Regions from separate parts of the Homo sapiens genome. Here all the other regions are linked to region 3. Evidence: promoter capture Hi-C in 16 types of primary human blood cells and fetal thymus (Javierre and others, 2016). All regions are on one chromosome and are shown on one strand. Each heading gives the region's core, a stretch centred on a gene start or on the middle of the fragment in contact. The rest is flanking DNA. Distances are from core to core; before and after follow the strand shown.

Evidence for each region. The method cuts DNA at HindIII sites, captures the fragments that hold promoters and counts their contacts. A CHiCAGO score of 5 or more calls a contact.
Region 1: a contact is called between a fragment that was not itself captured here and the fragment with the promoter of SYTL1 in region 3, in 5 of 17 cell types (total CD4 T cells, non-activated CD4 T cells, fetal thymus and 2 more). The highest score is 5.6, in total CD4 T cells.
Region 2: a contact is called between the fragment with the promoter of IFI6 here and the fragment with the promoter of SYTL1 in region 3, in 1 of 17 cell types (naive B cells). The highest score is 5.3, in naive B cells.
Region 4: a fragment that was not itself captured here is called in contact with the fragment with the promoter of SYTL1 in region 3 in 2 of 17 cell types (M1 macrophages and erythroblasts); the score reaches 6.3 in M1 macrophages.
Region 5: a fragment that was not itself captured here is called in contact with the fragment with the promoter of SYTL1 in region 3 in 1 of 17 cell types (M1 macrophages); the score reaches 5.9 in M1 macrophages.

The regions. Positions count from the first base shown.
Region 1 is chr1:27,652,486-27,657,673 of GRCh38, reverse strand. No RefSeq gene overlaps it. Among named protein-coding and RNA genes, the nearest start is that of LINC02574, 7.6 kb to the left of the region's middle. RefSeq lists a silencer at 2,761-3,163. The HindIII fragment of the contact is 5,418 bases long and covers 105-5,188 here.
Region 2 is chr1:27,667,961-27,673,631 of GRCh38, reverse strand. IFI6 (interferon alpha inducible protein 6) reads left to right here and starts at 1,440. Exons shown (of 5, transcript NM_002038.4): 1 at 1,440-1,509; 2 at 4,286-4,387; 3 at 5,097-5,174; 4 at 5,257-5,406. The coding sequence starts at 4,318. RefSeq lists enhancers at 1,069-1,408, 4,187-4,246. The HindIII fragment of the contact is 12,379 bases long and covers 1-2,902 here.
Region 3 is chr1:27,338,252-27,343,271 of GRCh38, reverse strand. SYTL1 (synaptotagmin like 1) reads right to left here and starts at 1,250. Exons shown (of 15, transcript NM_001193308.2): 1 at 1,122-1,250. RefSeq lists enhancers at 1-615, 790-839, 1,370-1,629. The HindIII fragment of the contact is 10,600 bases long and covers 1-2,004 here.
Region 4 is chr1:27,055,944-27,061,828 of GRCh38, reverse strand. LOC101928391 (a long non-coding RNA gene) reads right to left here. Exons shown (of 8, transcript XR_007065559.1): 6 at 3,307-3,431; 7 at 1,749-1,815. Among named protein-coding and RNA genes, the nearest start is that of TENT5B, 46 kb to the right of the region's middle. RefSeq lists silencers at 2,477-2,771, 3,497-3,791. The HindIII fragment of the contact is 671 bases long and covers 3,477-4,147 here.
Region 5 is chr1:27,036,155-27,042,022 of GRCh38, reverse strand. It overlaps LOC101928391 (a long non-coding RNA gene), which reads right to left. Exons shown (of 8, transcript XR_007065559.1): 3 at 3,987-4,135. Among named protein-coding and RNA genes, the nearest start is that of TENT5B, 26 kb to the right of the region's middle. RefSeq lists an enhancer at 3,560-4,060. The HindIII fragment of the contact is 3,437 bases long and covers 2,870-5,868 here.

The DNA.
Region 1 (5,188 bases), core at 1,564-4,063, 310 kb before region 3:
AAAATTAGCTGAGCATACCTGGCATGTACCTGTAGTTCCAGCTAATCGGGAGGCTGAGGCATGAGCATCACTTCTGCATAGGAGGTTGAGGCTGCAGTTAAGCTTAAGATCAAGCCATTGCACTCCAGCCTGGGCAACAGAGCAAGACCCTGTCTAAAAAAAAAAAGAGAAGAGAAGAGAAGGGAGGGAAGGGGAGGGGGCGGAGAGGAGACCGAGTGTGGTGGCTCACACCTGTAATCCCAACACTTTGGGAGGCCGAGGCGGGTGGATCACCTGAGGTCAGGAGTTCAAGACCAGCCTGGCCAACATGGCAAAACCCCATCTTTACTAAAAAAATACAAAACTTAGCCAGTCGTGGTGGTGGGCGCCTGTAATCCCAGCTACTTGGGAGGCTGAGGCAGGAGAATCATTTGAACCTGGGAGACGGAGGTTGCAGTGAGCCGAGATCGCGCCATTGCACTTCAGCCTGGGCAACAAGAGGGAAACTCCGTCTCAAAAAAAAAAAAAAAAAAAAAAAAAGATGTAAGTTACAGGAGAGTAAAGATGCCTTGTCACTATATCTCCTAATGACAATGATGGCCACAGGCCCTGGCCCAAAATGGAATCTCAGTAGGAGTTTATTGAATTAATGAGTGAGTGAATCTCTACCCAGTGCTTGTCCAGTCCCTGCTTACATACCTCCAGAGGCAGGGAGCTCACTACTCTTGAAGCAGCCCACTCCGTTTGCAATTAGAAGACCTCTAATTCCTGCCCACCCCCAACCATTGCCGAAGAGATTCCCTGGAGCTGAGGCCCAGAGAGAGTGATTACCTTGCCTGAGGTAGTTGGTGCAGAGCCAAGACCTACTCAACTGTCCTGAGGGCATGTGCAAGCTCACCTAATCCTGAAAGAGCCCCTAGGTGTCAGCACTGGCCAGATCCCCCACAGCCTGTACCCATTTGTAGGCCTGGGACTTGAGCCGCCATCGCAGCCCATTTCCCCTTTGCTCAGGAGCAGCCAACCAGCATCTGCTGAAGACAGGGATAGCAGGTCCCCAGTCTGGGAGCGGGGAAGCTAAGAAGGAAGCACTTTCAGGTAGCACTGGACTTCTGTTGCCCCTTTCAACCCCCATGCCAGCCCTATAAAGCAGGACTTGTCGTTCCCATTTTACAGATGCGCAAACTGAGGTGCTAGTTACCTAAGATAACACAGCAAGATAGTGGCAAAGCCAGGCCTAACTTCAAAGCCTGACCTCTTTCCTCTGCCCCTCAGCTTGGTGCCTCTTGTCTATCTGCCCTACTTCCAGGCCAATTCTTTCCTAAGCCTCATGAGGTCCTGAAGTGTCCTGTGGCTTTTGTTCCCCAAGCTGGGTCCCGCCCACAGTGAGGACTCACCAGCTGTGCTTTGGCAGCAGCTAAGAGCTGGCTGAATAACAGGAGTCATCCCTTCCTTCTGTATTTAGTCACTCCCTAAAACTGCAGGGGACCCCGACCAAATTAGGTAGTGGCCAAGGAGGTGTTTTGGAGAGGCCAAGCCCCTGAAACTAGGCCAGGCCACCTATTTGCTGTATCACTTAGGTCTGTTTCTTTCATGGAGCCTCAACTTACCATCTATAAAGGGGGTGAATTATCCTTTCTCAGGGCCTCTGTGTGCAAGGATTCAGGAAAGCTGCTCTCCTCTCTGCCAGGCCACCTCACCTTTGCACCTTCACCTTGAGGAACAGATCCCCACCCCACCCCCCCCGGCCAGGGTCCTTTTGTTGGCAGAACTCCAGCATAAACTGCACATAACCTGATTGTTAATGGGGGCCACAGATCCGGGGTTGGGGGCCCAGCTCCCCAGCTTCAGCCCTTCCTGGCCTTGGTTCCTGCTGGGGAACAGGCTCTGTCATCATGTCTGCTTCCTCTTCTTTCTGTGGCCTTTGCAGAGCCATTTCCCAGGGGGCTCTGCCTCTCCTGCCTCCTGTCTCCTCCTCTGTCTTCCCACCCTTCTTCCTCACACAGTGTTTATCCGCGCCTACTCTGGGCCTGGCACTTGGCTCATAGAGCTGAATAAGCTCAGGGCCTGTCCTTGCAAAGCTCACAGTTTGATGGGGGAAAATGGACAAGGAAACCAAGTTACAATTTATTCACCCATCCCAAATCCTATTGCCCTCCCTGCCGCTACCCTCACCCCTGCAGTCTGCACTCCACGCAGTAGCCTGAGTGATCCTGTTAAAACGGAGGTCAGAACATGTCACTCTTCTGCTCAACCCCCTCGCCCCCCCCATGGCTCCTGGTGTCAGAGGAAAAGCCAATGTCCTTGCTGTGACCTACAAGGCCCTGCGTGATCTACCTCACTGCCTCCCACTCTCTGCTCTGATCACTCCCTTCCAGCTGCACTGGCCGCCTTGCTGTTTTTCAGCATGCCAGGCGTGCTCCTGCCTCAGGCCTCTGCATTTGCCCTTGGCCCTGCCAGGCATGTCTTCCCCCAGGTAGCCACGTGGTCTCCCATCCTTCACTCAGGTATCTCCCCCTCATCCAGGGGACTTCCCTGGCTGCCTATCTAAATATTACCCCTTAGTTGCCTTCTGCTCTTTTACCTGCTTTATTTTTTTTCTTAGCCACTACCAAATAACATGTAATTATTGATTTTCTTTTTCCTGCAAAGGCATAAATCCCATGAGGTCTCCTGAGGTTCCCCACCCCCAAAAACAAACAAAAAAAGGACAGAAGAGAGAGAAAGAAAAAGAATGCCAGAAAAATTCTGGAAAAAAAAAAAGGCAACACTCACTGACTACTGTTAGATAACAATATTTAAAGCCTCAAAAATTAAAACAACTTGGGGCTTGATGGGGTGGCTCACGCCTGTAATCCCAGCACTTTCGGAGGCCAAGGCGAGTGGATCACTTGCGGTCAGGAGTTCAAGACCAGACTGGCCAACATGGTGAAACCCCATCTCTACTAAAAATACAAAAATTAAGAGCCGGGCATGGTGGCTCACGCCTGTAATCCCAGCACTTTGGGAGGCCGAGGCAGGCGGATCACCTGAGGTCAGGAGTTCGAGACCAGCCTGGCCAATGTGGTGAAACCCTGTCTCTACTAAAAATACAAAAATTACCTGGGTGTGGTGGTGCATGCCTATAGTCCCAGCTACTTGGTAGACGGAGGCAGAGAACTGCTTGAACCCGGGAGTTGGAGGTTGCAGTGACCCAAGATCATGCCACTGCACTCCAGCCTGGGCAACAGAGTGAGACTCCATCTTAAAAAAAAAAAAAATACAAAAATTAGCCAAATTAGCCTGGCCTGGTGGCAGGCGCCTATAGTCCCAGCTACTCAGGAGGTTGAGGCAGGAGAATCACTTGAACCCAGGAGGCAGAGGTTGCAGTGAGCCGAGATCATGCCACTGCACTCCAGCGTCCTAGACGATGAAAAGAGATTCCATCTCAAAAAAATAAAATAAGAATAAATAAATAATTAAGTCTGGGCATGCTGGCTCATGCCTGTAATCCCTGCACTTTGGGAGGCCGAGGCGAGTGGATCACTTGAGGTCAGGAGTTCGAGACAAGCCTGGCCAACATGGTGAAACCCCTTCTCTACTAAAAATATAAAAATTAGCCAGACGTGATGGTGGGTGCCTATAATCCTAGCCACTTGGGAGGCTGAGGCAGGAGGATTGCTTGAACCCAGGAGGCAGAGGTTGCAGTGAGCCGAGATCAAACCACTGCACTCCAGCCTGGGCGACAGAGCGAGACTCGGTCTCAAAACAAAACAAAACAAAAAATAATAATTAAAACCACTTGGTTTGGTTCAGGAAGAGACAAACAGACCAATGGACTAGAATAGAAAGTCCAGAAATAGACCTAATTGCACGCGAGAATTTAGTATTTGATAAAGGTGTCCTCTCAAAGTGGAAAATGGACTCTTTAATAAATGGTGTTGGGACACCTAGGTAGCCAACTAGGAAAAAAAAAATTAGATCCGTGCCTCACACTGAGCACCAGGATGAGCTCCCAAGGGATAAAATATTTAAATGTTTGAAAAATCAAAATAAAACCGTAAAGGCACTAGAGGAAAACATGGGAGAATGTATAATCTCATAGTGGAGAAAGTTTAACCATGACTCAAAAATCAAAAAGCTGTAAAAAGAAAAGATTGATAAAGTCAACTATATAAAAATCAAAAACTTCTGCATGGAAAAACACTATAAATCAACGCATAAGACAAATGACAATCTGGGGGAAATATTTACAACTCTAATCACAGACAAGGGAACATCTCGCTTATTTAGAAAGAATTCCAGGAAATTGATTAATCTTATAGAAATAGAGGCCTAGGCCGGGCGCGGTGGCTCACGCCTGTAATCCCAGCAATTTGGGAGGCCAAGGTGGGCAGATCACCTGAGGTCGGGAGTTCAAGACCAGCCTGACCAACATGGAGAAACCCCGTCTCTACTAAAAATACAAAAAAATTAGCTGGGCATGGTGGCGCCTGCCTGTAATCCGAGTTACTCAGGAGGCTGAGGCAGGAGAATCGCTTGAACCTGGGAGGCGGAGGTTGCAGTGAGCCGAGATCACGCCATTGCACTCCAGCCTGGGCAACAAGAGCGAAACTCCATCTCAAAAAAAAAGAAAAAAGAAAAAAAGAAAGAAATAGAGGCCTAGCATATGAACTGACGGTTCCCAGAAAAGTAAATATAAGTGATTCTTAAACACATAAAAAGAAGCTCAAACTCAAAAGAAATGCAAACCAGAAAAACTAGACTAGAATATTGCTACAGTTTGAACATTACGCCGCGAAAAGCAGGTGCTGGGAACTTAACCCCATACAACAGTGTTGGGAGGTTGGGCCTAAGGAGAGGTGTTTAGGTCATGAGGGTTTCACCCTCATGAATGGATTGGTGGTGCTGTTATAGCAGGAGTGGGATTATTATTCTGGGAACAGATTCATTATAAAAGGGCAAGTTCAGTTCCCTTTTCTTCTCTGTCACCCTCTCTTTGCTCTTCCACCATGGGATGACACAGCAAGAGGGCCCAAGCCAGATGTGGGCCCCATGATCCTGGAATTCCCAGCCTCCAAAACTGTGAGCCAATACACTTCTGTTTATGATTAATTATCCATTCTGTGGGATTTTATTATAGCAGCACAAAATGGACTAAGATACGATGTCTTATCAGTCTGGCCAAAAAAACCCCAAAAGCTGAATAACATATTCTGTGAGCATTTCTATG
Region 2 (5,671 bases), core at 191-2,690, 330 kb before region 3:
TGGAGGAAAGGAGTCAAACTCAATTCACAGATAAGTCAGTATAATATTTTGGTATCAGCTGGAAACGGACCACTCTATTACAGCCCCATTTGGGGGTGGCACTGAATAATAGTGAATCCTCCCAGGGGGCAGAACTAGGAGCAGTATACCGTGTTGTTCCCTCTGTATGCAGAGAGAGAGAGAGAGAGATGGACTGAAGTACAGACATACACCAATTCCTAATAAGAGGCAAATGGCTTGGCTGGTTGGTCAAAGGCATGGATGGAACAAGATTGGAAGATTGGGAATAAGCAGGTGTGGGTTAGGGGCATAAGAATGAACTCTGAATGGGCATAAAGCACCTGGATCTCTATGTCTCATGTTAATGCTGACCAGAGATCATCTGCTGCAGAGGAGGCTCTACAGCCCAATGGCCAGGATGTCCCATCCTGTGGATGTCAGCCAGCCTCTAAACTTAGCCTCACTATTGCCTTGCAATAGACCTATGAGTGTCCAAGGTGGTAAGGATGGGGGTTAGAAATGAGTCCAACAACTTGGGCTCCCTCTCACCAAAACTGATCTGGCAATTGCCAAAATATAGCCAATCTGCCAGCAGCAGGTAGCAATATGGCAAAATTTCTCAATGAGAATAGCCAGCCATCTGGTGGCAGGTCAATTATTTCAGACCCCTTCCACTTGGGAGAAGGCAATGATTCATCCTTACTGGAATTTCTATGTTCTCCAAATAGAGGTTGCATTTCTGACCCATAGCACTTCAAGCATCACCATCCAAAGGCTTTAAAGAATGCTCAGTTCATTACCTAGGGCCAGGGGACCCATCTTGAAACTCAAGATCTATCATGATGGCCACATGAACACAGGCTTCACTGGTCTTACCATATGCCCATGACCCAGAAGCAGCCAGCCTGAGAGAACAATGGAACAAAGTGACTTAATTTCCAAAGTTCTGGGGGTTTATAAACAGCATATGGTATGTCACATGACTACTGTGGGATTGGAAAAAGATCATGTAAATAGAGCACTTTGCACAGACCCTGGCATGCAGCAAGTGCTCAATAAATGATAGGTGTTGTTTACTAATTGGACTGAATGGTGAAAGGCCTGTGTGCCCCAGGGGGAGCTGGTGATCAGGCTTCACTAAGCCCAGTATGGCCGTGGCTCTCATCATAGTGTGACATGCTTTGAATACCCTTAGCGGCTCCAAAAGTCCTCAGCTTGAAGTGCATTTTTCTGCCAGCAGGCAGCACACAAATGTTCCCGCTGGGCGGAGCTGGGAGAGAGGGGAAAATGAAACTCTGCAGAGTGCAGGAGCTGGGAGAGAGGGGAAAATGAAACTGCAGAGTGCAGAAATAGAAACTCCGACAGGGATTGGCTGCCTAGGGTGAGACGTGGGAGGATCCACAAGTGATGATAAAAAGCCAGCCTTCAGCCGGAGAACCGTTTACTCGCTGCTGTGCCCATCTATCAGCAGGCTCCGGGCTGAAGATTGCTTCTCTTCTCTCCTCCAAGGTAAACTCAGGAGCTATGAAGTGTGGGCATCAAGCTGCCACCCTCTGCCAGGCTGCCTGTCTGCCTGTAAATCTCATGTTCTGAGAGCCAGGAGGCCCCTTCTCCTGGGAGGCAGCACTCCTGGGTCCCTTTTAGTGCTCTGGGCTGGGACTTGTCTAAGAGGATGGGTTGGAGATTTTTAGGGAGATGGGATGCAAAACCCCAAGTGGCATGAGACCCAGCTTACAGGTGCAATATCAGCGATCTGTGGCCTTAACACTGTCACCTCTTGGAGCCTTAATTACTTCCTCTGTAAAAGGAAAGTTAAGTTGCCTTTGCTGCTCAAAGGACTGGATGATTTTAGAATCCCCTTTATTATAGGATCCAATGTGACAGTGAGTTCATCTTTAAGGATAGATGAAGCCATCTGGAGTGGTTGTTAAAAATGTGGGCTTGGTGGCCGGGCGTGGTGGTTCACGCCTGTAATCCCAGCACTTTGGGAGGCCGAGACCCACGGATCACGAGGTCAGGAGATCGAGACCATCCTGGCTAACACAGTGAAACCCTGTCTCTACTAAAAATACAAAAAAAATTAGCCGGGCTTGGTGGTGGGCGCCTGTAGTCTCAGCTACTCGGGAGGCTGAGGCAGGCAGGAGAATGGCATGAACCTGGGAGGTGGAGCTTGCAGTGAGATGAGATTGCGCCACTGCACTCCAGCCTGGGCGACAGAGAAAGACTCCATCTCAAAAAAAAAAAAAAAAAAATGTGGGCTTGGGTATTAGCCAATTGTGGGTTTAAACCCTGACTTTGCCATGACCTGGCTAGGCAGCCTTGGGAATATTACTTAACCTCTCTGAGCTTCAGTTTCCTTATCTATAACATGTGGTTGATAACAATGGTACCTACTTCGTGGTGTTGTTATAGGTACAAGTGGACTGCGTGCCATAAAGTGCTAAGTACTCAATACATGAGAGGAGTTTCTTGTTTTTCTTTTTAACTTAAGAAAATAGCATTGATCTGACAAAGATCATATTAGAGGTGAGTCTGAGGGCATATGCATTTTCCAGTTTTGTGGTATAAAGGAAAGAGCATAGGTTCATGAATTCTGACTGTCTTGAATGTGTACCCATGTTGCACAATTTGCTGTGTGACCTTTATCCCTTGTGATATTGTAAAATATATTTTTTCATCCCCCAGTTCCTGGCATACAACTCCTAAAATCCTTGGAATCTTCAAAGTGATAAATATCTTTTGAGTGATAACTGTCTAATAAGTTGACTGATGGCTGGCATTTCCTCTGGGGAGGGGAGAGGGGCTGAAGGTTAAGCTGATTACCAATGGGCAGTGATTTAATCAGTCATGCCTATGTAATGAAGCCTCCATAAAAACACAAAAGGACAGGGTTTGACAAGCTTCCAGATAGCCGAATACAAGGAGGTCTCCAGTGGGTGGTGCTTCTGGAGAGGAATGGAAACTCCATGCCCTTTCTCCCATACCTTGCCCTATGCATCTCTTCATCCGGAGCATTTGTAATATCCATAAGGAACCAGTAAATGTAGCTGGGTATGGTGGCTGATGCCTGTAATCTCAGCACTTTGGGAGGCTGAGGCAGGCAGATTGCGTGAGTTCAGGAGTTCAAGATCAGCCTGGGCAACATGGTGAAACCCCATCTCAAAAAAAAAAAAAAAAATTAGTTGGGCGTGGTGGTGCATACCTGTAGTCCCAGCTATGCTGGAGGCTGAGGTGGGAGGATCACTTGAGCCTGGGAGGCGAAGGTCTCAGTGAGCTGAGATGGGGCCACTGCACTCCAGCCTGAGCAATAGAGTGAGACCCTGTCTCAAAACAACAACAAGATCAATTTTTTTTTTTTAAAGAAAGAAACCAGTATATGTAAGTAAAGTGTTTCCCTGAGTTCTGTGAGCTGCTCTAGCAAATTAGTAAAACTGCAGGAGGGAATTGTGGGAACCCCAGTTTATAGTCAGTCAGAAACACAGGTAAAACAACCTAGGGCTTTCGATTGGCAGTCTGGGGGACTGAACCCTCAACATGTGGGATCGGCCACTATCTACCCATAGTGGTGTCAGAATTGAATTTGGGGACCCTCAGCTGGTGTTCACCAGAGGACTGATTGTTTGCTTGCTGGTGGGGAGAAACCCCCACACTTCTGCTGTCAGAAGCCTCTCGTACGGTGAGGGAAACTGAGTTTCTTTTTCCACACACCCTTCTGTGCTTTCTTTCTGAAAAAAAAATTAAGTTGATGTGAGGCCAACGTTTGGTGCCAGTAGATATTCAATGCATTGTAAGAATGAGTTTGTCTTAAAAATTTTTTTAAAGCAAATTCTATGCGTCAGGCACTGTTCAAAGTGCCGGGGATACAGCGTGGAACAGTTATTAAATTAACAAGTACCCTCTGAAATAGACTCTATTAATACCCCAATTTTAGAAATAAACAAACTGAAGCCCAGAGAAGCAAAGTACCCTAGTATCCTGCCCAAGGTCACTTGGGTACAAGGCCAGGAACAACCACAGTCATGATATTGACATCTGCGGAGCTTACCACGTGCCAAACACCGTGCGAATCCGCACAGAATCCGCACACCCACCGGTTGGGGCAGGGACATCTCTGCCACTGATGCGGAGAGGAAACGGATTCCCGAGGCTCCTGAGAGGGATCCTGGGTTCCATTCACCACACCTCGCTGCTTTTTACTGATTCAGTTGGAACTGGAAGGGAAAACAACGGAGCTGATGAGCTCCAAAAATGCTCCGGGGACCATCTCCCTCTCGCCCGTTCGCAGGTCTAGTGACGGAGCCCGCGCGCGGCGCCACCATGCGGCAGAAGGCGGTATCGCTTTTCTTGTGCTACCTGCTGCTCTTCACTTGCAGTGGGGTGGAGGCAGGTGAGAATGCGGGTAAGGATGCAGGTAAGGGGACAGGTAAGGGTGCAGGTAAGGATGCAAGTAAGGGTGCAGGTAAGGATGCGGGTAAGGATGCAGGTAAAGATGCGGGTAAGGATGCAGGTAAGGATGCGGGTAAGGATGCAGGTAAGGGTGCAGGTAAGGATGCGGGTAAGGATGCAGGTAAGGATGCGGGTAAGGATGCAGGTAAGGATGCAGGTAAGGGTGCGGGTAAGGATGCGGGTAAGGATGCAGGTAAGGATGTGGGTAAGGATGCAGGTAAGGGTGCAGGTAAGGGAACAGATAAGGGTGCAGGTAAGGGGACAAGTAAGGAGGCATATAAGGGTGCTGGGGGATGGGAGGAGTGTGGGATAAAGGAGAGAGTTTCAGGGTCCGGGGTGTAGAGGGTCTGGCGTGCTTCTGTAGAGACCCTGGCGTCCATTCCAATGGACAGCGCAGGGTTGGTGTCGCCAGAGTCCCAGATTCAAATCCCACTACTCTGTTCATTCCTCCATCCTACCGAAATTTACTCGATGCTAGTTCTGTGCCAGGCTCGGCGCCTAGGGGAAAGTCCCTTCCCCTCTGTGAGGCTCTCTGAGTAGGAGAGTGGTGGCCCCCGCCTCCAGGAGTGGTCCTGAGCATCAGACACAGAGTAGGGGACCCCTGTGTCCCACCCCAACACCCCCACTACGCTTTGTCTGCTCTCCTGCAGGTAAGAAAAAGTGCTCGGAGAGCTCGGACAGCGGCTCCGGGTTCTGGAAGGCCCTGACCTTCATGGCCGTCGGAGGAGGTGGGTCTGGAGGGCGAGGATCTCGGGCAGGCGGGGCGGGCCTCTGCCGCGGACGCTCCCTCACCTGCTCCTGTTCCTCCAGGACTCGCAGTCGCCGGGCTGCCCGCGCTGGGCTTCACCGGCGCCGGCATCGCGGCCAACTCGGTGGCTGCCTCGCTGATGAGCTGGTCTGCGATCCTGAATGGGGGCGGCGTGCCCGCCGGGGGGCTAGTGGCCACGCTGCAGAGCCTCGGTGAGTGCGGGGCCTGGGCCCCTGGTGGGACGTTCTTTACTATTATTTTCATCATACATCTGGGGAAACTGAGGCACTCAGGAATTAAGTAATTTACTCAAGTAATTAAGTAGTTTACCAGGAATTAAGTGATTCTTTATTTATTTATTTTGAGACAGAGTCTGGCTGTGTCACCCAGGCAGGCTGAAGTGCAGTGGTGTGATCTTGGCTCACTGCAACCTCTGCCTCCCTGGCTCAAGCGATTTTCCTGCCACAGCCTCCCAAG
Region 3 (5,020 bases), core at 1-2,500:
ACAGTGACTCCGGAAAGAAAGCATTTGCCCAGCGCTGAGGGGCATGTAGACGTGGCAAGGGGCCCATGACTTGGTCAGGGCTGTGTCCTGAGCCCACTGGGCGGCCTCTCCTCTCTTCCCCGCCCCTTCCATTGCCACGGCTCCAGGTGGGGCTGAGACCGGCGGAGGCAGCTTGGCGGGCAGGTCCTGGCTTGTGTCCGCCGCCTGCTATGCTCTGTCCCCTCCCAGCTGAGTCAGTGGCCGAGCCCCAGCGATCCCTCTTGACACCCTCAGGAGCAGAAGGCCTCAGCACGGCTGCACGGTGTGCATTCACTCTGTGGATACCTGTGTGCTCCACAACAGCAGTTTCCCTGGACTTCTGTGGCCAACGTGTGAGCCCACGTTCGGCCTCCCCTGTGGATTGGGGTGTGAGCCCACGTTCGGCCTCCCCTGTGGATTGGGGTGTGAGCCCACGTCCCTCTCTGTGCCCTGTTGTGTGGCTGTGTGGGTCCGAGTCTGGTGGGCATGTCTGCGTTGCGTGAGTCTGTGAGCTGTGTAGTTGCTGTGTGTCTTTGTGTCCTGTTGCAGTGTGATGCTGCATGGTGACTATATTGTCTGTGTGGTGTGTTCAGTGACTTTCTAGGTGACAGCGCCGTGTGGGGTGTGTACAGTATGCATTGTGCATTTCCTCCTGTGCTGTATGTGTGACTGGGCTGTGTGCTGTGGGGTGTCCCCTGGTGCCTTGGGGGCCACCAGGTGTGTGTGTCTGAGTGTGGATGGAGGCCGGGGGGACGTTCGGCAGAACTGAGCCTATTTCTGTCCTTCAGGCCTGCCTGAGCTGGGCCATGGGCATCAGCCCAGCGTCCTCAGCAGTGCCCCCTCCCTGAAGTCCCCTCTCCTACCAACCAGAGGCAGAATCTCCTACCAGAGTTAGGTAGGAGTTTGGTCTTCTCTGCTGTTTTGACACGGTGGGACAGACCCATTGGTCAAGAGGAGGGTCTGTCCATCTGTCCAGCTGTTCCAGTTCCAGACATGTGCCCACCTCCCCCAACCCCAAGGTGCTGGAGGGTGCTCAGGATACCAGGTGGCAGTGCCTGCGTCTCTGGACCCTGGCAGGGGACCCTGGCACCGACACGTGTTACCTGTAGGGGTCCAGTATGGGAGGACACCTTCGCAGGTGGCTCCAGCTCCCCTGGCAGCCGAGTTTCAGGGACCGGGAGAAGAGCCGTGAGGGAAGAAGGCTGACTCAACAGGCAGCCCAGCCAGCAGCTGCCCCACACGGAGGAGGAGGAAACACCTCGGCAGGGCCTGATGCAAAACCGGGCCTGGACTCCCAGCGCCCGGGGGTGCGCCCCCGCAGCCGACTGGAGAGGCCCAGCTTGGCCCCAGCTCCACTGAGCAGGCCCTCTAGAACGGGTAGCAGCCCCACCTTGCCCACAACGGGGCTGATAGGAACTCGCTTTGAAAGCAAGTTAGAAACCTTTCTTTTCCAGCCCCAAGGGGAATGGCAGGATGGCAGACTTTGCAGTTAGACCACCCTGTGCAGAGTCCCTGCTCTGCCAGTGGGTGTGTGATGTGACCTTAAGCAGGTCTCTTCCATTTCTTCTGATGCAAACTGTGGGTAGCAGAGTGCAAGGAGCCTATACTAAGGGAAGTGAAAGTGCCCGGTGCGAGCTGGCATAGTCGGGGTGAGGTGTCCCCACTCCAGCATAGCCTAATGCCCACGGCCATCTCAGCAGCTGCTGCCCTCTATATCCACATGCACTTCTGGGACATGCTGGCAGAGCAGCCCTCTCTGTCCCCTCTGCTGTCCTGAGCCCCATCTGTTTGAGGAGGCCTGAACTCTTCTAGTGCCAAGGTGAGGGTCCCACACCCTCTGTCTATGTGGAGCCCCCCTGAACTCACCCCATTCTACACCTAGATTCTGCCCACCCTGAGATTAGAAGGTTTGGGCCCTAGATTACATTGGCTTCAGGACCATGAACCTCCTGGGTTGTCTTGGGCACAAGAGGCCACACCAAAGCTTTCTGACTCCCCCCAAGTCCACTTCACTTCCCATGGCCTGCCCTGGCCCAACCCCCTCCCCTGAACCTAGGGCCATGGATTAAAGATTAGTGGGCTCCTCATAGACCCCTGGGAGAGGCAGGACAAGGGGTGGATTCTAAACAAAACCAGTCTGGGCACAGTGACTCATGCCTGTAATCCCAGTACTTTAAGAGGTCGAGGTGGGCGGATCACTCTAGGACAGGAGTTTGAGACCAGTCTGGCTAATATAGTGAAACCCCGTCTCTACTCAAAATACAAAAATTAACCGGGCATGGTGGCAGGTGCTTGCAGTCCCAGTTACTCGGGAGGCCGAGGCAGGAGAATCGCTTGAACCCAGGAGGCGGAGGTTGCAGTGAGCCGAGATCGCACCACTGCACTCCAGCCTGGGCAACACAGCGAGACTCCGTCTCAGAAAAGCAAACAAGGCTGGGCGTGGTAGCTTACACCTGTAATCCCAGCACTTTGGGAGGCCGAGACGGGTGGATCACGAGGTCAGGAGATCAAGACCATCCTGGCTAACACGGTGAAAACCCATCTCTACTAAAAATACAAAAAAAATTAGCTGGGCGTGGTGGCGGCTGCCTGTAGTCCCAGCTATTTCCCGAGTAGCTGAGGCAGGAGAATGGCATGAACCTGGGAGGTGGAGCTTGCAGTGAGCCGAGATCGCACCACTGCACTCCAGCCTGGGCGACAGAGCGAGACTCCGTCACAAAAAAAAAAAGAAAAGAAAAGAAAAGAAAACTAAACACCCACTCTTCCTTCCTGTAATCAGAACCGACTCCCACCACCACTGAGAGACAGAGGACCCTCCTCCACCTCAGAACCACAGTGGAGGCTTCCCTACTTATTTTTTGCAAATTAATCTTATTTTTCTCATCTGTTAAATGGGGGTAATCTCTCCTTAGAGGGTTTTCACTAAAATTCAGTGAGATCCTTGCAGACTTTTTTTTTTCTTTTTTTTAGATGGAGTCTTGCTCTGTCGCCCAGGCTGGCTTGGCTCACTGCAGCCTCCGCCTCCTGGGTTCAAGTGATTCTCATGCCTCAGCCTCCCGAGTAGCTGGCACTACAGGCGCCCGCCACCACGCCTGGCTAATTTTTGTATTTTGAGTAGAGATGGGGTTTCACCATGTTGGACAGGCTGGGCTCGAACTCCTGGTCTCATGTGATCTGCCTGCCTCAGCCTCCCAAAGTGCTAGGACTACAGGCGTGAGCCACCTTGCCCAGACCCCAGTACTCTTGATTAATGCATTTATGCACCCACACATGCAATACCCATGGAGCAGCTGCTGTGGGACCATTACTGTGATGCTGCCTCCTTCATTAAGGCCCTCAAAATGGAAGGAGAGTGGCCAAGAACATCCACACCCCTTCCTGCCATCCTGGTCCTGGCGCCCCCAAGGATGTTTCTCTGCCCTCCTCTCACCTCCTTAGCAGCTCTTCCTCCTGGAAGGCATGAAACTTCATTATCTGGTCTTCGGGTTTCTAAATTTCCCTTCCTTTCTCTGCTCTCCTGTCCTTCCTATAGCTGTGACTCCCTGACGCTGATACTTCCAGCCATCTCTCCTGCTGTGTCTCAACCTGCATTCCTCTGGCCTCTTCCCCACTTGAAACCTATTTCCAAGTTTCCACCTCTGTAACCAGCCCCCATCATCCTGGCCCCTGGCCTCCTGCTGCTTCCTGCCACCTCCAGATGCTGTCCACACTTCACTCCAGGTGCCCTCCCATCTGTGTGTCTCTGCTGTCCTCCCCCTGCCCAGGTCTCAGTCCCCGCTCAGCCTCTTCTGGAAGCCTCCTCTTCTCCTGCCTCCTTGCGGCCACACAAGGCCACTCTGGCCCTATGTTGCACAACTTTCAAACGTACTTTTCTTTGTCATCCTCTGGTTTGGAAGGTGCCAGCAGACAGCCAGGCCATCCCTCGGGCCCATTCATACATTTCTAAACCAGTCCAGTCCCCTTTAGACACGTCCTGAGATGGAAGTCTCACCACTTCCCAGGACAGCCTGGCCCTCAGCCTGACCCTCAGGATTGCTGCCCTTACTCTGGCTTTCTCCCCTTCGTCACCTATACCCGTAGAGCCTTAGCTGTGGGCTATTTCCTGTCCTTCAACACCCCTGGGCCTTCTGTGCTCCCTGTGGGAATACTTTTCCCCAGCTCCAGGACTAGCTCAGCCTCCTCCAGAGTTCAGTGCCCCTGCGCTGCAGCCAGTCTCTAGGCAACATCCCTCTGTTAAGAGGGACATTAAGAGGCAGGGTCCTAGAGGCCAGCAGATCTGGGTTAAAATCTGGCTCTGCCGCATGGTTCCCTGTGGCCTGGGATCAATGACAATCCCTGTAAGCCTCACTCTCTTCCTTTATGAAGTGGGGACAATAGCCATCTCACAGGCCTGCTGCTGTCAGGAGAGCTTGTTTTTCACCTCCGCGGCCATTCTCCTTTCGCATCACAGCACCTCTCATTTCCACTCCTGTGCTCCAGTGAGGCCATCGCACAGGGTGGCTCTGAGTGGGGGCTCTGGAGCCCAGCTGCTGGGTTTGAACCATAGTTCCACTCTTCCTACCTCTGTGACCCGGAGCAAATCACTACTTCTCTGCTTACTTCTTCATCTGTAAAATGGGATGATGGCACTTACCTTGTTGCAGGGCTGTTGTGAGGCTAAGATGGTATTTTATTACAAGGCCTAGCACAGAGTAAGCACTCGCTAACTGTTGGTGACTTTTTTTTTTTTTTTTTAAGAGACGGGGCCTTAGGCCGGGCATGGTGACTCACACCTGCAATCCCAGCACTTTGGGAGGCCGAGGCAGGCGGATCATGAGGTCAGGAGTTTGAGACCAGCCTGGCCAACATGACGAAACCTTGTCTCTACTGAAAATACAAAAATTAGCCGGGCATGGTGGCAGGCGCCTGTAATCCCAGCTACTCGGGAGGCTGAGGCAGGAGAATCGCTTGAATCCGGGAGGCGGAGGTTGCAGTGAGCTGAGATCATGCCATTGCATTCCAG
Region 4 (5,885 bases), core at 2,563-5,062, 280 kb after region 3:
GGCTTGTCCCCAGCAGAGAATTTAGGAGCAAAGCATTTCAGTGACTTTTAAAAGTAAATCAGGCCAGATGTGGTGGCTCATGCGTGTAATCCCAGCACTTTGGGAGGCAGAGGTGGACGGATTGCTTGAGCTCAGGAGTTCAAAACCAGCCTGGGTAACATGGTGAAACTCCGTCTTTACAAAAAGTAGCCAGCCACTGTAGCATTTGCCTGTAGTCCCAGCTTCTCAGGAGGCTGAGGTGGGAGGATCACTTGAGCCCAGGAGTTTGAGGCTGCAGTGAGCCAAGATCTCACCAGTGCGCTCCAGCCTGGGCAACAGAGTGAGACACTGTCTCAAAAAAAAAAAAAAAAAAAAAAAGGTAAATCAGAGGGGCCACCCCTGCTTAAAACCTTTCACCAGCTTCCCACTATGCTGAGGAAAAGGTCAGGGTCCCTAAAGTAGCCCGCAATGCCCATACCCCACACACCTGGCCTGCATGCTGGCCTCCATGTATGAGCTGTATGACTTTGAACGAGTTATTTAAACTTGTCTGTGCTTCAGTTTCCTCATTTATAAAATCGCAATAACAGAACCTACCTCAGGACTGTTTGAGGGTAAAATATGCTACATGAGGTGCTTAGAATAGGGCCTGCCATGCGGAAAGTCCTCAAGAAGCATTGCTGCTATTACTGTTATTATTTTTGTCCCACTGTCTCTTGCTCTCCCCGCTAGGATACACACCCCAGCTGCCTGACTGTGGAGCTCCGCCTTCTAACCCCTCTGGCAGCATCCAAAGGCAAAAGGCCACGGCAAAGCTTCTCCTCAGACGTCCTCCTTGAAGACGTCCTCCTTGTTTTATAAGGGGGTGGGGGAACTTTCCAGAACCCCTTTCTGTCTCATTGACTAGAATGGGATTCTATGCCTGCCCCTAAACAAACAGAGGTAGAGAGTGGGGCCGGGCGCGGTGGCTCACGCCTGTAATCCCAACACTTTGGGAGGCCAAGGCAGGCGGATCATGAGGTCAGGCAATCGAGACCATCCTGGCTAACACGGTGAAACCCTGCCTCTACTAAAAAATATAAAAAATTAGCCGGGCGTGGTGGCGAGCGCCTGTAGTCCCAGTGTAGCAGGACGAGCTGCAGACAAAACTCCTCAGACACCGAGTTGAAGGAAGGGGTTTAATCGGCTGGGGGCATCGGCAAGACTCCTGTCTCGAGAGCCGAGCTCCCCGAGTGAGCAATTCCTATCCCTTTTAAGGGCTCACAACTCTAAGGAGGGTGCGTGTGAGGGGGTCGGGATTGATTGAGCAAGCAAGGGGTACGTGACTGGGGTCTGCATGCACTGGTAACTAGATCGGAACAAAACAGATAGGGATTTTCACAGTGCATTTCTATACAATGTCTGTAATCTATAGACAACATAACTGATTAGGTCAGGGGTCGATCTTTAACTACCAGGCCCAGGGTGCAGCGCCGGGCTGTCTGCCTGTGGATTTCATTTCTGCCTTTTAGTTTTTACTTCTTTCTTTGGAGGCAGAAATTGGGCATAAGACAATGTGAGGGGTGGTCTCCTCCCTTACCAGCTACTCGGGAGGCTGAGGCAGGAGAATGGCGTGAACCCCAGAGGCGGAGATTGTAGTGAGCCGAGATTGCGCCACTGCACTCCAGCCTGGGCAACAGCGAGACTCCGTTTCAAAAAAAAACAAAAAACAAAAAAACAACATCAACAATAGAGGCAGAGAAGAAAGGGAATACCATAGTTATACACACCTGACCCAAAGCAGGGCTCTGTTCCCGTAGACTGGTGGTTCTCAGGTTCCAGGAGAGTCAGAATCACCTGAGGGTTTAAAAAAAAAAACAATTTCCAGGCCGGGCACGGTGGCTCATGCTTGTAATCCCCGCACTTTGGGAGGCCAAGGCAGGCGGATCACCTGAGGTCAGGAGTTTGAGACTAGCTTGGCCAACATGGCGAAACCCTGTCTCTACTAAAAATACAAAAATTAGCCGGGCATGGGGGTGGGTGCCTGTAATCCCAGCTACTCCGGAGGCTGAGGCAGGAGAATTGCTTGAACCTGGGAGGCGGAGTTTGCAGTGAGCCGAGATCGCACCACTGCACTCCAGCCTGGGCGACAGAGCGAGACTCTGTCTCAAAAAAAAAAAAAAAAAAAAAAAAGAATCCCAGCGTGGAAGAGGGGAAAAGATGTAACCCAGCCTGCAAATGCGGGCTCCTCCCTAGAGACTGGCATAAGGTGAGTGCCAGCCCAGACGTGGCCATCACTGTAGCTACACAAAGCCTCCAAGGTTTCTGCCAGCTCTGGGGGCTCATGTGCTCATGGCTGCTGTCCTGCTTCTGCTGATTCCTTGCAGCTGTCGCCTTTACTTCTGTCCTGGAGTTGACCCAAATGAGGGGCAAGAACTGCAGGACATTTTCCCCTGCTCCCAGAGCAACTGCGGGTATAAGGCTGTTGGGCTGTCGTGTGAGGGGGATTTTCCTAAAGACACAGCACACAGGGAGAATAACAGAAGTCACCTTCCTGAGGCTGCCCCGCACTTGGGTTCTGAGGACCTTCGCTCCCTCCCCTCCTTCTCTTCTCCTCCCTCCTGTCTCCCCTGCGGCAACCTGAACTACTCGGCTCTCTCCCCGCTCCTCCTCCTCCTCTGCAACTCAGCTCTAGTCCTGCCTGAGGCCGAACCCTTGAACAGGAGGCCAGGGCTGGAAAGTTGTGGAAATGCCCCTGTGGGGAGCCCTGCCAAGGATGCTGAGGCTGAGCCCCAGCCTGGGGGAGGGGGTGTCCTGATCTGAGCAGACCCTGAGGGCAGACAGAAGGCAGCCAAGGTCTAGAGCTGGTGCCTCTAACCACCTCTACCCCAGAGGCTGTGGGATGCTTGGGAGCCAGGATAGGGCCGGGCTTTGGGTCTACACTACCTTGGTCCTGAGATGGAGTCTAGGAACATTGGTGGGGGTGCCAAGCATTCTGTAGAGGTAGGATGGGGTGGGTCCCTCTCACTTCTTCAGCCCTCAAGATTGCATACAACAGGCTCCTAAGAAATCACTGAGGCTGGCTGGCACGGTGGCTCACAGGTGGCTGAGGCAGGAGAATCACTTGAACCCGGCAGGCAGAGGTTGCAGTGAGCCAAGACCGCGCCACTGCACTCCAGCCTGGGTGACAGAGCGAGACTCCGTCTCAAAAAAAAAAAAAGAAAAAAAGAAAAAAAGAAATCCCTGAGGCTTTTAAGCCTCGGAGGGAGAGCCTGCTGACTCCTTGAGGTGTACAGAGGCACCAGTTTTTAGGAGGACAGAATCTTTCTAAGGCAGTTTGATTTTTACCTTCTCAGGTGCAGGAAAAGTGACTGTTTCCTTCTCTGTGAATTTCCCATGGACTAAGGGACTCCCGACAGGGGGAGGGCCCTCTTGGCAGTCAGCTTATTCTGAAATTTGAATTTCCAATGCACCTGGAGGAATCCAGAGGGGAAAGGTTGTTATTTATAACCAAAGCTTCCTTCTAAGGAAAGTAGATCCTGCTGCATTAACTAAAAGGCCCTTTTGTTCTTAAAAGGCCCTTACTGGGTTTGGCTTGGCAGCCTGGTTTGGGAAGAGCAGGAGGGGCTAGGGAGAGCTGAAATGCAGGGTCTCCTGTGTGAGAATTGGAAGCCCCTGGGGCATCGAGGTGTCTGTCACGCAGGGGCTGAAGAAGGGAGGCGGGTAGATGGGCATGGGCGCCAGCAGATGGGAGCAGCAGCCCTGTGCGGGCGGGGCTGGAGGATGCCTGAGAAACCAGCTTGTAAGAGCAGAGACGTCCCAGTGCCACTTTCAGTCGTGTGCTGAGCCACTCTATAACTCTTCCAGGGACCCACAAATCTTAGTGAAATTCTGCTTACAGAGCAGTCTGGTATCCACGGTTTCTTGGGAGAAGAAACGGGCTGCATCCTACATTTGAGTCAATTCCAGGGCAGAAATAAAGGGAACAGCTGCTAGAATTCAGCAGAAGCCGGAAATCAGAGGCACACAATTGTAAGCCTGAGAAATTGCAGAAGCCTTGTGGAAAGTAAGGGATGGGGTCTGAGCCAACCTTATTTCAATCCCAGTGGGCTGGCGGACCCCAGCTACCAACCATGGGTTCTGCCTAGGGGCAGATATTTGCCCCCCCGCTTCCTTGCTAAAAGAAGCTTGTTTTGTTCTGGTGGGAGGACAATGTACTAATTACCCCCAGGTGGATGGTGACTGGGATATTTACATTTGATCCACTCCCCTCTGCTGGTAATTGGGTTGGGGAGAACCATGGGACCCTGTTCTGGCCAATGAGATAAGAGGGGGAGGCTGCTGGGGGCTTCTGGGAGGAATTTTCCTCCTCTTACAAAAAGAGATGTTTTAGGAGGACCCCTGTCCAAGCCTCCCTTCCTGAGATGCTGCCCGTGGCAAATGCAGCCACACAAAAGTGCAGGCTCCAGGGTCAAACCATCTGGGCTAAAAGCATGGCTCTGCCTCCGATTGGCTGTGTTGTCTTAAGCAGATTACTTGACCTTTCTGTACCTCGTGTTCCTCCTCTGCAAAATGAAAATAATTGGACTTTCTTCTCAGGGTGCTGTGAAAATCAAATGAGTGAATACACCTAAAATGCCCAGACAGTTCTAGCACATGATAAGTACTCAATATATAACAGCTGTTATTTAGTTGCTCTCTGTGGATATGATGCTTGGAGCCACGGTAGTCATCTTTCAACCATGAGGGCCTTGACTCAAAAATGGTCTACCCCAAGATATCTTAAGATAAAAGTCCTGTGGGGTTTTTTTGTTGTGTTTTTTTTTTTTTTTTTTTTTTTTTGAGACACTCTCACTCCATTGCAGAGGCTGGAGGCTGGACTGTAGTGGTGTGATCATGGCTCACTGCAGCCTTGACCTCCCAGGCTCAGACGATCCTCCTGCCTCAGCCTCCTGAGTAGCTGGGACCACAGGCACATACCACCGCACCTGGCTCATTTAAAAAAATTATTCGGAGAAGGCCGGGCACAGTGGCTCACGCCTGTAATCCCAGCACTTTGGGAGGCTGAGGCGGGCAGATCACGAGTTCAGGAGTTCAAGACCAGCCTGGCCAACATGAGGAAACCCCATCTCTACTAAAAATACAAAAATTAGCCAGGCGTGGTGGTATGTGCCTGTAGTCCCAGCTACTTGGGAGGCTGAGGCAGAAGAATCACTTGAACCCGGGAGGTGGAGGTTGCAGTGAGCCGAGATCGCACCACTGCGCTCCAGCCTGGGCAACAGAGCAAGCCTCTGTCTCCAAAAAAAAAAAAAAAAAAAAAATTATTTGTAAAGATAGAGGTCTCCTCTTATGTTGGCTAAGCTAGGAAACTCCCAACTCTTTAGACAACTTTTAGCTTAGTATTCTGTTACTTGCAGCCTAAATCTCCCTAACCAATTCATAGATAAAAACTTGATACTTATGATTGTTTTATGATAAGAAATTAAACCACCTAATCCATGGGATACTCATATTTACTGAGAACACTGCTGAGAACCCTGGAGGCAGATTACACAGCATTGACTGCTAGTCATCCTCAAATGCGTAGTTTCTCCTTCTCTCTTTAATAAATAGAATGGCCATATTTTAGCTGGGCACATGCTGCGTGGCTAGAAAGCACATTTCCCAGGCCGGGCCTGGTGGCTCACACCTGTAATCCCAGCACTTTGGGAGGCGGAGGCGGGTGGATCACTTGAGGTCAGGAGTTCAAGACTAGCCTGGCGAACATGATGAAACCCCGTCTCTACTAAAAATACAAAAAATTGGCCGGGTGTGGTGGCCAGTGCCTGTAATCCCAGCTACTTGGGAGGGTGAGGCAGGAGAATTGCTTAAACACAGGAGGCGGAGGTTGCAGTGAGCCGAGATCACGCCATTGCACTCCAGTCTGG
Region 5 (5,868 bases), core at 3,339-5,838, 300 kb after region 3:
GAGATGTGTGTGTCCATTTTACAGACAGGTAAAATGAGGCTCTGAGAGGTGCCTGCTCAAAGCTGCTGGGGAGAGCACAGGGACTCCAGAGAAGACAAGATGGGGACGGGTGGCCTGGCATGGTGGCTCATGCCTGTAATCCCAGCACTTTAGGAGGCTGAGGCGGGCGATCACTTGAGATCAAGAGTTCGAGACCAGCCTGGCCAACATGGTGAAACCCCATCTCTACTAAAAATACACAAATTAGCCAGGTGTGGTGGTGGGCAACTGTAGTCCCATCTACTCTGGAGGCTGAGGCAAAAGAATTGTTTGAACCCAAGAGGCGGAGGTTGCAGTGAACTGAGGTCACACCACTGCACTCCAGCCTGTGTGACAGAGCAAGACTCCATCTCAAAAAAAAAAAAAAAAAAAAAGATGGGGATGAAGAGATTGAAAGGTTTAAAGGTGACCAGAGGGGCAGGAGAGTGTCAACATGAACGCTTGGGTGGGCTATGACCTTCGATAGACCTATGTTTGAATCCCAGCCCCACCATTCATTTATCTTGGGTAAATTACTGAAGCTCCCTGAGCCCCAGTTTCCAAATCTTTACAGTGGGAATAATGATAGCATCACCCCAAGATCCTCTCGTGCAGGTTCAATGAGGCAGTATGGGTGAAATAGCTGCTGTTATTTTCAGACTTACCAAGCTTGTGACCCTGGAGTGTAGGGTGAGGTGCGGTGGGGAAGAGGCCACTCAGGGTACAGCCTGCCCAGCCACAGGCTGGGGAGACTCCTGCTGTGTTGCTGCCTCTGCCTGCTAGACAGTAGTTATTTTACAATTACTATCGTCCATCCTTTCCCATCACTCCTGCTTTAGAGTTTACAGAGTGCTTTCATTCATTCATCCCTCCATTCACTCATTCAGCTTTTACAGAGTGCCTCTTATGTAAGCCAGGCATGGTGCCGGGCTTCCAGTATATCCTGGTGAACGAGGTAGGTACTGTCCTTGCACCTGGACGACTTACAGACATCCAGTAGTTAATCACACGAATAAATATGTAGTTAGAAATTGGATTGCCGGGCGCAGTGGCTCACACCTGTAATCCCAGCACTTTGGGAGGCCGAAGTGGGCAGATCACAAGGTCAGGAGATCGAGAATATCCTGGCTAACATGGTGAAACCCCATCTCTACTAAAAATACAAAAAATTAGCCAGGCGTGGTGGCAGGTGCCTATAGTCCCAGCTACTCAGGAGGCTAAGACAGGAGAATGGCGTGAACCCGGGAGGCAGAGGTTGCAGTGAGCCGAGATCGCGCCACTGCACTCCAGCCTGGGCGACAGAGGGAGACTCCACCTCGAAAAAAAAAAAAAAAAAAGAAGTGGTTTCCCTGAGAAACTGGGAAGGCCCTTCAGAGTGGACCCAAACTGAGGCAAGGTGGCCAGGCCTTTGAGCCTCCCATTAACCAGTAACAGGCTGCCCCTGGGGAGCAGACATGCCCTTGTCCCTGAGGATGGGACATTTGACTGAAATTTGAAGGCTGGAAAGGAGCTGAGGGAAATGGAAAAGAGCCCTGCTACAGAGGGAGGCATGGGGAACAGGGAGGCAGCCTTGAGGCAGCTGCAGCAGCTGAGAGGAGGTGTGCAGAGCTGGGAGGTAACCCCCGGGGTCAGGAGCTCAATTTATCGTCAAAGCAATGGGTAGCCTTGAAGGGCTTAAGCTGGAGATTGGCTGGATCTGCTTGGATCCTTCTGGCTGCCCTGTGGAGAAGGGGTCAGAAGAGGCAAGAGAGCCGGGGGGGGGGAAACCACTTAAGAAGCTGTGGAGATTTAGACAGGCCACAACCTTGGCCTCAGGCGGTGGCTCCCGAAATGGAGAAAGAAGGAGGAGGCAGTAAAGTCTGACCCTCGGGGGGCTGAAGCCAAGCCAGAGCCTCCACTATGGCTGGTTGGTTGTCTCAGGAGCAGTCACTCTGGGCTCTGGGCTCTGGGCTCTGGGACCCTGAAACAGACTCAGAGGAGATCCTCACTCAGCAGCTTACGGGGGGCTGCTCTCAGGGACCACCCCAAAAGGGAGTGAGAAGCAGAAGCTACAGCCAAGGCCTCAGCCTATTCCACAGGGAATTCTGGGGCTGAAAGGGCCCTTTAGAGGCGACCCAAACTGAGGCAAGGCGGCCGCATCTTTGAACCTCCCTGTTGACTGTTAAAAATCTAGACTTATTACAGAGCTCTCCCCCATCCCTCCCATTTGCGGAACTTCACAGGTGTTTACATACATCCAGGAGCCCACACTGGGTCAGCCTCAACTCTGGGTGCTGCTCGGCCCAGTACACAGTAGGCGCTCACTGAATGTTAGAAGGCCCAGACAGAGTGGAGGGAGGAAAGAGGCTCAAGTTCTAAGGAGGCTCCCAGCTTTCTTTGTGGTTTGGGCCCCAGGCTAAAACAGGCCAAACTGGGGAGAGAAGACCATGCAATGAGTTTGGGACATGTGAGGCTGCGGTGGCCAGCCCCCCGAGAAGCCCCACCGTGAAGGAGGAAGAGGAAGAGACCGAGAGGAGAGGACTCAGGGAGGGGGAGCCTGGAAGGTAGAGTTCCAGAACGCATGGAGGTGGCAATGATGACGCCAAGGAAGGAGCAGCAGAGATGAGGACCCAGAAGAGGGGATGCAGAGAATGCGGCAGGGTCTGGTGAGGGCAGGGTCAATGCAGGAAACAGAAACCCCTCTTGGTGTTTTTAGCAGCAAAGTATTTAATACAGAGCAGTAGGTCCTTGCACAACCATCAGAGAGGCTCAATGAGCCAGGCCTCCAGGAATGATTCCAGACCTTTCCATACTCGACCCACTGAGAAAGTCAACGCCAGAGCTATGAATTCAACAACTTACCACTGAAGCTTCAATGCAGGGATCAGAAAGCTGGATTTAAGAAGCTGCTACCCCTGCTTTCATCCCTGCGACTACCTCTGAGCAAGCTCGAGGCTGGAGCCTGACACCAGATCACCAGTGCAGAAAAACCTCGTGTTCCTGCAACCTTGCAGGCTGGCAGAAACAGCCAAAAGGGGGCACAAAATAACTTAAAATTAATAAAATGACAATTTAGCAACAACAACCAACACTTACATAGTGCCTATTATGTGCCAGGCACTGTTCTATTATTATTTCTATTTTATTTTTATTTATTTATTTATTTTTATTTTTATTTTTTTGAGACACAGTTTCACTCTTGTCACCCAGGCTGGAGTACAGTGGTGTGGTATCAGCTCACAGCAATCTCCGCCTCCTGGGTTCAAGCAATTCTCCTGCCTCAGCCTCCCAAGTAGCTGGGATTACAGGTGCCCACCACAACGCCCAGCTAAGTTTTGTATTTTTAGTAGAGATGGGGTTTCACCATGTTGCTCAGACTAGTTTCGAACTCCTGACCTCAGGTGATCCACCCGCCTCGGCCTCCCAAAGTGCTGGGATTACAGGCGAGAGCCACCGCGCCTGGCCTATTCCTATTTTGTAAATGAGGAAACTGAAGCACAGAGAGGATTGAGCCTCACTTCTGCCTTCCAAACCCTGCTGCAGTGAGTCTCTTGGTGGAGCCTGTCCCCCACGCAGGCACAGCAGGGAAGGGACAGGCAGTGCTTTGCTGTCCAGCTGCCCCAGCTAGGAGGGTAAAATGGACTTGAGAGAGCCAAGCCACAGCGTCTGCCCCACAAATCACCACTACCACTGTCACCTCTCCACCAAGACTATGATCTGCCACCACCATTAGCAATCACTTGAACTACCCTCAAGTCATTACCAGCCCCCTCACTTCCTCCGCCAACATCGAGATCTAATAGAGCCATCACCTTTTCGTCACTCAGCATCACCATCAATGTCACTGCCACCGCTGCCATGATTACCCCCATTACTCCCACCCTGGCGGCAGGGTGGTGTCGAGATGGCAGTGAGATCACTTCCTTGCCTTGGTGCTCCCTGTGGTAATTGCTTAATGAGATGTTTGCAGCTCTGAGCATACTACTTACCCTGCACAACTAGGAACCCTCCCCAGGTTCTGATGAGGCCAGGATGGTTTGTGAGCGGAGGGCTCTGCGGCTGTAGTGTGGCTGGGAGGGTCTGAGAGCACCTCTGGAAGGCCCATTTTGTCCGTCCCCCTGCCTCATCAATGTTTTGCCTTTGTGGTGGAGAAAAGCAAGAGTGTGATAATGTAGGGAACTCGAAGAATCTGTCTAGGTCAACTTACACAACTGACTTCCCCTCTCTGGGCCTCAGTTTCCTCATCTGCAGGATAGGAGCAAGAAGAATTATCTGATCGAGTAATGTGGGGATTCGAGGTAATGCAAATAAAGAATCTGGCACAGTGCCCAGCGCCCAGGTGGCTCCCACATGGAAGCTGCTAATATCTTTATTTTATTAAACATTTATGGCTGGGCACCGTGGCTCACGCCTGTAATCCCAGCGCTCTGGGAGGCCGAGGCAGGCAGATCACCTGCAGTTGGGAGTTGGAGACCACCCTGACCAACATGGAGAAACCCCGTCTCTACTAAAAATACAAAATTAGCCAGGCATGGTGATGCACGCCTGTAATCCCAGCTACTCGGGAGGCTGAGGCAGGAGAATTGCTTGAACCTGGGACGCAGAGGTTGTAGTGAGCCAAGATCACACCATTGCACTCCAGCCTGGGAGACAGAGAGAGACTCCATCTCAAAAAAATAAATAAATAAATAAATAAATAAATAATTTATATAATAGTCACTTTGTGCCAGGCATTGCTCTGACACTTTACAAATTTCAACTCACTGATTTAAACCTCCTGAGATAGGTACTACTATTGCTCCCATTTTACAGATTAAAAAAACTGAAGCAGAGTTAAGTAGCTTACCCAAGATGACACAACTAGTTAGTGACAGAGCTGGGATGTAACAAGGGAGTCTGAGCTCTTAATCTTGGTGCTCTTTGGCCCTAAGTGCTTCACCCTGTTCTAAAAACCTTCCCTGCCCGCCCTGGCCAGGCTGAAGAAGACTCTGCTCTTTTTGTCTGTCATTTGGAAAAGGGCCTCCAGAAGTCAGTCCCTTGTCTTGGGATAGAAATGCCCCCACTGACCTTGTCCAGGGCCTCCCATCCCCCCCAGTCAGGAAGTCCTTCCTGTTGTCTGACTTGAATCTGGGCTGAGGCAGCAGTTCCCAGGGAAGAACCTCTTCAGCTGGGATACCTGGTGGGAGGGGCCTCAGGAGATATGGTGGAGGAGGGAGGGGGCTCAACCCTGAACTCTCAGAGAGTGGAATTTGGGGGGCAGGTTCTGGGCATCTGAGTGGTGGCAGAGCTCTGGGGCAGGAAACCCTGTTAGCTCCTCTCCAAAGGGATCTTGCTTTCCCCACCCCTCCATAACTGCACCAGCGACTTCTCAAACTACCTCCCAAGCTCAGATAAAAGCAGGAACGAAGGAAGTGACAGCATTGGACAGGCCAAGCCTGCTGCAAGACATCTGGATATCACTGTCACCATCAGACACCACATTGGCAACTGCTACCAAAGACCACTTTTCTTTCCTTTTTTTTTTTTTTTTGAGACAGAGTCTCCCTCTGTCACCCAGGCTGGAGTGCAGTGGCGCGATCTCAGCTCACTGCAACCTCAGCCTCCCGGGTTCAAGCAATTCTCCTGCCTCAGCCTCCCAAGTAGCTGGGATTACAGGCATGCGCCACCACGCCCGGCTAATTTTTTTTTTTTTTTTTTGTATTTTCAGTAGAGACAGGGTTTCACCATATTGGCTGGGCTGGCAAAAGCCTCCTTTCTAAGTGAATTCTTACCCTCCTGTCTTGGCATCACTCACTCCAAGCCCTGGGCTACGCCCCTTGGCCGCCCCAGGTTATGTGCCCATGTCCTCTCTGCCAGGGAGTAGGAAGAGGG